3 separate regions of the Homo sapiens genome follow, and all the other regions are linked to region 1. Evidence: promoter capture Hi-C in 16 types of primary human blood cells and fetal thymus (Javierre and others, 2016). All regions are on one chromosome and are shown on one strand. Each heading gives the region's core, a stretch centred on a gene start or on the middle of the fragment in contact. The rest is flanking DNA. Distances are from core to core; before and after follow the strand shown. Region 1 holds the start of PAPSS1 (3'-phosphoadenosine 5'-phosphosulfate synthase 1). Region 2 holds the start of RAP1GDS1 (Rap1 GTPase-GDP dissociation stimulator 1). Region 3 overlaps TSPAN5-DT (TSPAN5 divergent transcript).

Region 1 (3,016 bases), core at 217-2,716:
TAAGCCAACCTTATTTCCCTAACCGTGAAACACCTTAAGGTAAGAGAAGCGAAACTGAGTCTGAGTTTCAAGGCAGTGGTTTCACCGCACATTCAAATTCATGATCTGTCTTCTTTGTTCATCAAAACAATCCCGTGAAGTACATACTATTATACCCTTAAGTCAACTGAGGTTCGAAAAAGTAAAGTGACTCTCCTCAAGATCACACAGCTAGTAAATGGCAAAGCTGGGATGAGAGACCAGGCCAGGAGTCCAGCGCTCTTTCCACTGTTCTAATTCATCTTTTAAATCTCCTTCCCCTCCTTACCATCTATAGAGTTAAATAAAAGGAGAGAGGAATCAGTAAACAACTCATGATAACAATAACAACAGATGTGGTAAATTAATGACTTCCAAAGAACATTTGCCTGAAATTGCTTGTTTTTTTTTTCTTTGATTCATCTAGGGCAAGTAACGTTTTGGGAGACATTGCATTTAAACCTTATTATTCCATTGGACTGTGAAATAACGTTTCCGTCTAAACTTAAACCAGTGCCTTTCCAGACTCCAAAGATGGGCCCTTCCCTGCTGCACACTTACAAAGGAAGATAAGGCTCTTTCTCATCACAGAGAAATTAAGGAAGTAAGCAACGTTATGAGGACACAGCACTTTACAAAGTCAACTGGCAGTCATTACTAAACGTTATAAAGGACTGGTCCCATACCTGACTGTCACCAGGAATGGAGTCTTCCAAACTCCTACTTGTTAAACATTCCGATTTAACACAGAGACACAAAGAACCTCAGTTCAGGGCAGTCTCAACTCATGAATGACCACATTGTTGGGTACTCTCCTTTCACACTGAAACTCAGAAATGGAAAGACACGGAGATGGACCCAAACCTGGGCCAACCGCACTGGCAGAGCCAAGAAAAACCAAGAACGCGTCGAAGGCGCCCGCCTCCGCCTTCTCTGCACATCTTCAGGCCACTCCAAGGTATGCAGGAAGCTCCTGTTTCTGCAGCCGCAGGTTTCAGCACCCGGAGGTTTCAGCAAGCGCCAGTTCACGGGTGAAGGATTTTCCTGGGGGTCTTACCTGAGCGGAGGCGCTGGGGAGGGGGGGCGTTCTTCCCACGAACGGTGGCTCGGACCGCACGCTGCGCCAAGCTAGGGCGAGATCCCCACCCTGCGCCGCGCCCCTCTGCCTCGCAACCACCCACGGCCCCAGCCGGGAGGCGCCGCAGCCCCGGAACCCACCTCCGCGCTCCTGGAAGGATGGATGCGGAGGAGGCGGGAGAGAGGCGGCGGCTCCGGAACGAGCTGCTCCCACAGCCCCTCCGCTCCTCGCCGTCTCGCCTTCGTCCCCAGCTTACCCAGTTCTGCGCGTTATTGCTCAGTTTGACTTTCTTGCACAGGCTCCCGGGGATCTCCATGACCGCGGAGCGCGCTGAGCAGCCGGGGTTCTCTGCGCCGGGAGGGTAGCAAGAGGAGGGCAGGCCAGCGAGCGGGGCGGGGCTGGAGGGCGGGGCCTCCTCGCGTCGGAGCGGGCGCGCGCTGACTTAAGCACGCGCCCGTGCTCGTGGCCTGGGTTGCGCGGCGCATGCGGCGCGCCTCGGAAATGGGTCCGGGGCAGAGGTCTGTGGGGAAGGGCGAAACGCCGGGATAGAACCGGAGGTAGAAGCTGGGGGCGGAGCTTCAGCGCTCGCGCCGGCGCGGGCGCGCACGGCGCTCCTCCTTCCAGATCCCGATGAAGGGGCGGGGCCTGGAATGCAGTCGTGGAACCTCAGGTGCCTCTGCGGCACCGAGCCTAGCTCTGAGCTAACGCAGATCTCTAAGAGCGAGTACCAGCCGCCGGGAGAAAGGCAAGGGGAGTGCGCGGCTCGCCGCGCGCGGCACTCCCTCAGCAGAGGCTGATTGGGAGGACGCTGACGCGGCCTCTTGCACCTGTGGCTACTCCTCCACAGACCTGGCTGCCGACCTCCTGTCTGCCCCTTCTGTGCCCATGTCACCCTGGCCAAATGTTTTAAATGTTTTACAGCTTTGCAAAGGGAAGAATTGATTTACCGAACAGCTCATTCTCCACATTAAAATTCTACTCAAGACACAATTTTTTTTCTTTTTTTGAGACGGAGTCTTGCTCTGTCGCCCAGGCTGGAGTGCAGTAGTAGGATCTCGGCTCACCGCAACCTCTGCCTCCCGGGTTCAAGCGATTCTCCTGCCTCAGCCTCCCGAGTAGCTGGGACTACAGGCGTGTGCCACCACGCCCGGCTAATTTTTGTATTTTTAGTAGAGACGGGGTTTCACTATGTTGGCCAGGCTGGTCTCGAATTCCTGACCTCATGATCCGCCCGCCTCAGCTTCCCAAAGTGCTGGGATTCCAGGCGTGAGCGACAGCGCCTGGCCTCAAGACACAGTTTTTAAAAAGATATAATAAAAGCCCGATTTCTTGACATCAATAATTAATATCTCAACCTGGATTAGTGATTACTTATAAGGTGCCTCCCTCTCCGCTAGGAGACCCCACTTCGCATCAGATTTCTGTGCAGTGCTTCTTACCGACCTACACCGGAAAGGGGCTTCTGTATTATTAAGAGCTACTCAGGAAATACCTAGAGGACTGAAATCCAGGACCGGGGAGGCCGCAGGTAACCCCGAATAGAACTCCCGCCTACGGAGGACATTTTCAAATTCACCTAATTATTCCAGGGCTAGTTCGTAGGAGGATGGGCTGGGGGCATGACAGAGTTTCCTCCAGGAGTTATCTTCCCCACACCCCCCATAACTCTGAGTTCTCTTTTCCGCAGCTTGCCCCTGGCACCAAAAGAGTTGCTTGCAGCTCTGCCCCCCTGTGACACAGCCGCCCTCCGCCCCTGACCCCGCCCATCACCAAGACCTGAGACTGCTGCCTGTTAGTGACTAGCAAATTAGCCCCCATCACCAAGACCTGAGGCTGCTGCTGCTGCCTGTTAGTGACTAGCAAATCAGCCCCCATCACCAAGACCTGAGGCTGCTGCCTGTTAGTGACTAGCAAATCAGC
Region 2 (3,016 bases), core at 150-2,649, 9.5 Mb before region 1:
TGTAGAAAAATCACATAAAATCTGCTCTTTGCTTAACAAATTACAGGGTCGCTTCTGATTTGTGTGCTCGAAATACTAGTCACCAAGCAGAAACTGATGACTGTGAGAATAGGCGACTAATTAACAAACAAACAAAAAAAGCCCTTTCTCAACATTGGATTGACCGAGTGAAAGTTGACAGGGGAAAGACACCTCGATTCAGCCATCTTTCTCCAACAGGTTGTACTGCTGACTGCACAGTGTCCCCTGAAGGACTCCGGTCGCTGTAGCCTTGGAGAGCGACCAGATTCCTCACCCCACTCAGGAGGAGCCAGGGCAAGATTAGGGTGCAGAGAAATCGGTTTCCTCCAGCCTCCTACCCCAGGGAAGAGGACCGAAGCCAGCCCCGGCCTCACGTGCATGCCCAGTCGGGAGGACGCCCTCAGTGGGAGAGCCCTGCTCAGGTTCTCCCCGAGGCCGAGGTGGTGGTGGGAGCGGGCGGTGGCCCCGGGATCAAAGGACCTCCGCCGGGTTAGCTTTGGCAGTGCCGCAGCCAACCCAGCAGGACGCTTATTTTCAAGCCTGGGGAACGTAGTTCCTCCCGCTTTCACAGCAGGATGGAGCCCGACGGCACCCCGGTTAAAGGGCCTTTCCAGAGCCCTCCGGGGAACGGAAGGCCGCGCTCCTCCGGGAGGGAGAACGACACACTCTTCGAGGAAATCCTGGGGCGGGCGCTCTCCTCGCTGCCGGGACCTTTGTTTCTAAGCTGGCCACAGCTAGAGCAGCCTTAAGTGTCCCAATGACACGCCTGCTATCGAGCGCCCTCCCGGCGGCCCCTCCTCAGCCAGCTGCCCAGCGGGCGTCCTCAGGTGTCCCCAAGAGGCGCAGGCCTAGTCGCCTACACGTCCTTTCCAACTTCGTCAGCTCTGGCTTCCCACCACCCCTCCCGGCTCTGCGGCGGCCCAGCCTCTTCTCCGGTTAATTCCGGCCTGTGCGGCCCGGTCGTCCCGTAAAGAAGGCAAGCCCGGGTTCCGGGTGAGGGGTTGGTGGGTCAGGGTGGGAAAGCAAGGCAGCGGTGAGTCCTCTGCTAGCAGATCGGGCTCAATATCCCCATTCCCTGTTTTCTCCGGGCCCGCCCTCCGCCTCTCAGGCGGCCGCCATGAAGATCCTCTGCCGCGGCTGCAGCCGGTCTGCAAACACACGCCCACCCGCACGCTTAGCCTCGCTCGCCACAGAGGGAGGGGTGGAAAAGGCACTGAGCATGCTCGGTGGGGAGGGCGGGGCGCTCGTGGGCTGCGAGTCGGGGCCGGAGCTCTTCAGGCCGGCTCCCGCGCCTCCGCCGCCCGCCCGCTCGGAGCCGCGCCCGCCGCAGGCTGCGCCCGCCAGTCCCGCCCCGCCCCGCCCCGCCCCGCCCCCCGCCGCTCGTCCCCGCCGCGGCCGCGCCGCCTGCAGCAGCACCAGCTGCTCCTCCCCGGCGGCCGCCCCCCGCGGGTCCCTCCCTGGCTGCGGGAGAGACGGAGGTAGAGGGAGGACACAGAGCCGCGCCGCCCGCACCACAGACCTTCGCCTCGCCCCGCCGGTTCCTCACCCTCGGGGAGCAACATGGGTAAGTCATCCTTCCTCCGCCGTCATCGCCTGACATTTTTTTCTTTCTCGGCGTGCTGCAGGGTGGGAAGCATTTCTCGCGCAAAGTTGCCGGATTTCTCCAGTCCCCGGGTGTGAGACGGTGGCTGTTCCTCCGGGGAGAGTCGGCGCACGCGGAACGCACGCCGGGTGCCGGGGCTGGGAGGGTCCCGAGCGCGGGCTGGGGTGGGGTCGGCCGCGGGCCGGACCGCCGCCCGGCTCCCCGGCACCTCGCAGCCTCGCCTCCCCTCCTCCATTCTTCCTGCCGGTGCCCGGGCACCACGGAGCCTGCCTCGCGGGCTCGCATCTGCAGCTCCATCCCCGTTTCTCCAGAGGCCGCCCGCTTCCTTTTCCCCCGCGTGTACTGAGCTCGAGGCTCGGGTCCGACCACTACCACTTCGTGTAACTTCCTTCTCTGTCAGTGCGACCTTTCCCCGTCGTGGAGACTCCTCATCCCGGGCGGGGAAGTGGAAGCAAGTAGTTTGTGAGGGAGATCTTACAACCTGCACGGAAATTATTTTCCAAGGGGGAGAGCGGACAGCCTCATAGGTTGAAAGGATGACTTGTCAGAGGCCACGAGGAACGTGAGGCAGGATAGAGCCGCTAGCTGTTGAATTAGTGCTGGGTGACTACAGTGTGCAATATTCCCGTGCCCAGCCTATTTTCTGGATTCCTTCGTCCGTCTTCTGTAGCAGGAAACTGCGCCCTGTAACGTTGTTACCGAACTTACATGGTAGTTATTCTTTCCCAGCTTCCTCCTGTCTAATCTGCATAATCTGATTTTAGTTCCTTTGTATTTATAGTTAATCTGAAGAGATTGGTTTGGATGAGAGATTTAAGAGCAAATATGTTTTATAAAACGATATATACATTTGACCTAATTTTTTTACATCATCTATTGCTTAACTGTTACATTCAGTAATCACAGAAACGTCTGATGAATGCTGTCATGTAATTAAGAGCTCAAAGTTTCTTTTAATAGTAGCGACTTGTACTAAGTTCCCCAGTTTGCTTCCACTCCTGTCTGTCATAATTTCCTCTTTTTAAAATTTGCTCCCTTGGCATCTGTCAGCTGGGACTTTTCCCACCCCTTCTGTGCGAGTTATTTAAAGCTTGAGATGAATGTGGTCCTTTCATCTGTTAATACAGTGCTCAACACGTTCAGAGTTAGGTGGTGCAACTCAGAATCTTCAAGAAGTATCTAAACCTGGGAATGGTGTCCATAGAGTTTTCTGGAACAGCAAATGCTTCAGGCTTTGATCCCGACCTTTGGCCATATATCTGGAAGAGGCCAGGGTTGACGGAGGAGGTGGTATGAATCAAAAAAGGTCTAGGGCTCTGAATTTTATTTTCAGTTGTTTTTTCTTTTTAACGTGAGTACTCGATATGCTGAACAAATTTCTGTAAAAATTGG
Region 3 (3,016 bases), core at 365-2,864, 9.1 Mb before region 1:
AATAAAGTCTTAAAAAGAAAAATCAATGGAGAAGGGAAAGGTAAGATAACTAATCAGTAATTTGGAGGGGGGGGTGGAAAAACTAATTGAATTATCTCATTTCGTATATCCAAAATAAGTTCTATGAGGATTAAGGAGTTAAATATATTTTAAAGCAGACCAGAAGGAAAAATATTTGTCAAACCTCTGTATAGAAGTATTTCTCAACTTAGAGGCAATAGAAGGAAATAATCAATGGATATGATTGGGTAATATCTTAAACACTTCTACGTGTCCAGCTTTTTTTAGTGTAAGCTAAACCAGAAAAAAAATTGGCAGCAAACATGAAAAATAAAAACCTGAATGTCTATATTATAAGTAGGGCTCATAGAGCTATAGTAAAATATAGAATCGCAGTGGTTGAGTATAAACAGAAAATAAATCATATAAGAAATAAAATATATGGGGAAATTAATCTAGTAATAAATGAAGTATACATTAAAACTAATAAAGATACAAAAATAATGAGCACTGGTTAGCACATACATTGTTGGTGTCCTTATGAAATAATATGTCCATTTGGAAAGCATTTTGGCTGTATATATCAGGTCAGAGTGCTCCTACATTTTGACTCAGCAGTCCCTCTTCTGGGAATCTACCCAAAGAAATACCCCAGCAGATGGAAAAAGTTATACACTGCAAGATGTATATCATAGCATTATTTATATTGAAGACTTGGCCAGAAATTAAAGATCAAAGAGTAGGGGTGATATCCAATTCCTTGTAGTTACTTGGACCACAATGTTCCTTCACATTCTGTGCCTCTGCACATGTCATTTAGAGTTTCTGCCTGGGGCATTCTCCTTGTCTCTTGTCTGTGAGCTGATTTCTCTTATTCTTCACTACTTTTGTTCAATGTCTCGGAGGCTCCTTCTTTATTCCCTCAACACCCGCTGTGTTCTTCCATCCCGGCACTTAAAGGCTGCCTGTAAGAACTTGTTTACCTACCTGTCTCCTCAATCTGCTGTGACTCCTTCTAGGGTGTGACCTAACCCTTGGTAATCTTAGAATCACCAGAGCTCTGCAGATATGGCAGGTGCTTGATAAATATTTATTAAAGGAATGAATGAGTCATTTGCTCACAGTTTTTACAGCTCTTGAAGATACTGCTTATAGAGTATGTGGCAATATATGGATACATTATAATGTTAAATTTTAAAGGCACTATATATGGAATTATCTCCAAGTAATATTGTTAAATTTTAAAAACAAGGAACAAAAACAGTGTACACAGTAGGCTATCATTTTGTGAAAAGATAAGCTCTGTTGGCAAAAGAATATCCATACACATATTTCCTTGTTAATGGGTAGGCTATCTATGGAAGAAAACGAAATAAACTGGTAACAGCGAGTTAGGGTGGAATGGGGGGCAAACTGGGGGACTAAAGATACTGATAGGAAGGAGACATGTTTTATTTTTAAATAACCCCTTTAGTCTGTTTTTGAAATTTGTACCATGTATATGATACACGTTTTGAAAAATAAAGCAGTCTACAAAACGGTATGCAGTTGTATGAAAAAAAGTTAGGAGTTAATTTTTGCCAAATAAGAACAGTTATAAGGCTGGGTGATTTTGTTTTCATGTTTCTGGTTTGCAATTTTTAAGTGTGGTTAAATTGCTTTTACAATTAAGAAGATAAAATTATACATAAAGATGTAAGAAAGTAACTAAGTAATCATATTTATTTCACGCAACTCCTTCACAACTCAATAAATGCTGATCTATTTTAAGGAGAAAAGGAGAAAAATTTTCTGTCTGAATACTGCTAAGGCCACCTCCCTTATAACTCTGAGGTTGAAAAATGGTTAATAAGTTTAACTACTGACAAGTTAATCAGCTCTTCAAGTGGCAGTGAAAACAGGTAAAGCGTGTTCTTCTAATAGTTGCCTGGCTGAGGAGCAAGATATGACAACAGCGTTTTAACCTAAGACACCAAACTTAACGAGCTTGTCTGTCTCCACCTGTGCTTTATTGTTCCTGCCCACCTTCCTGCCTCCCTCCTCTTGGGCTCTGTCATTGTCTGCCTCTCTGCTCCTCTCTGTTTTTCTTTTGCTTCTCTGTAGCCGCCCTGCTGGTTGCCTCCACACCCCTCCTGCCGCCTTCCTCTCAGAACCCTAGCAGCTGTGTTCAGCGTCCCCCTCTTAAAGCAGCCACATGCTCTGGGAAGACTGGCCCTCTGCGTCACATCTGGCAGTCCCATTCCTCTTGCTAATGTGTGGTTCAGGAATGGGCAGGTGGCCCAATTCTGGTCAACAAGCCATGAGAAGAATCTGCTAGAGGTTTCCTTGCATCTAAGAAATGGTCTCTTTCGCCCTTGGACTTGGTTGGGTTTGGATGTGATGCCTCGATCCTCTACAGCCTGATGACAAAGACCACACCAAGGATGGCAGAGTGGAAGGATAAAAAGAACCAGGGCCTTCCAGCCTTTGTTGTATGGCTGACTTAACCAACCTTGAAGGTGGCCTTACTCACGACTTCCTGTCAGATGAGACAAATTTCTTGGTTAAGATACTTTGACAGGGGTTTTCCGTTTCATACAACTGAAAGTATCCTGACTTAAACACCTTTTGAGGTTCTGCCCCAAGCCTTTATTGATTTTCTCCTCTTGAATCACCACCAGCATTTCTGCATTTCTCTTAGTACCACGTTTTTTCTATTCCCCACACCCACCACCCCCTCTCTTCCCTAGCTGTTTCTGTCTCAAACAATACAGGGAAACATTTTAGGGTGTCTGACAGATCACACCCACCCCTTTCTCAGACCTTCTCAACCACAAGGTGCTCTCCCACCTCCAGCGAGGTTTGTACTTCACAGTTGATGGGGTCCCGGTAGATTCAGGCTGGGCCAACCTGAGAGTCTGTCTCAGTAACAAAGGGAACCCTGCGCCCAGCTGAAGTGCAGGCAATGTTTACCCGAAAGCTGGGGGTGGGTCCGCATTTCCAGGAGGAAGCCAAGACTCTCCCTCATCCTCTGCAG

What was found. Contacts are between HindIII fragments. The CHiCAGO score rates a contact against its expected background, and 5 or more counts as called.
Region 2: a contact is called between the fragment with the promoter of RAP1GDS1 here and the fragment with the promoter of PAPSS1 in region 1, in 1 of 17 cell types (non-activated CD4 T cells). The highest score is 11.0, in non-activated CD4 T cells.
Region 3: a fragment that was not itself captured here is called in contact with the fragment with the promoter of PAPSS1 in region 1 in 1 of 17 cell types (non-activated CD4 T cells); the score reaches 7.8 in non-activated CD4 T cells.

Annotation. Positions count from the first base shown.
Region 1 is chr4:107,718,768-107,721,783 of GRCh38, forward strand. PAPSS1 (3'-phosphoadenosine 5'-phosphosulfate synthase 1) reads right to left here and starts at 1,467. Exons shown (of 12, transcript NM_005443.5): 1 at 1,353-1,467. The coding sequence starts at 1,412. RefSeq lists enhancers at 720-779, 2,770-2,919 and a silencer at 1,410-1,659. The HindIII fragment of the contact is 5,198 bases long and covers 1-3,016 here.
Region 2 is chr4:98,259,985-98,263,000 of GRCh38, forward strand. RAP1GDS1 (Rap1 GTPase-GDP dissociation stimulator 1) reads left to right here and starts at 1,400. Exons shown (of 15, transcript NM_001100427.2): 1 at 1,400-1,585. The coding sequence starts at 1,582. RefSeq lists enhancers at 641-940, 692-1,254 and silencers at 1,221-1,520, 1,621-1,690. The HindIII fragment of the contact is 4,992 bases long and covers 1-2,712 here.
Region 3 is chr4:98,660,887-98,663,902 of GRCh38, forward strand. It overlaps TSPAN5-DT (TSPAN5 divergent transcript), which reads left to right. Exons shown (of 3, transcript NR_148380.1): 2 at 1-40; 3 at 2,104-3,016. All of the region lies in intron 1 of LOC112267901 (a long non-coding RNA gene), which reads left to right. Among named protein-coding and RNA genes, the nearest start is that of TSPAN5-DT, 3.5 kb to the left of the region's middle. The HindIII fragment of the contact is 4,440 bases long and covers 1-3,016 here.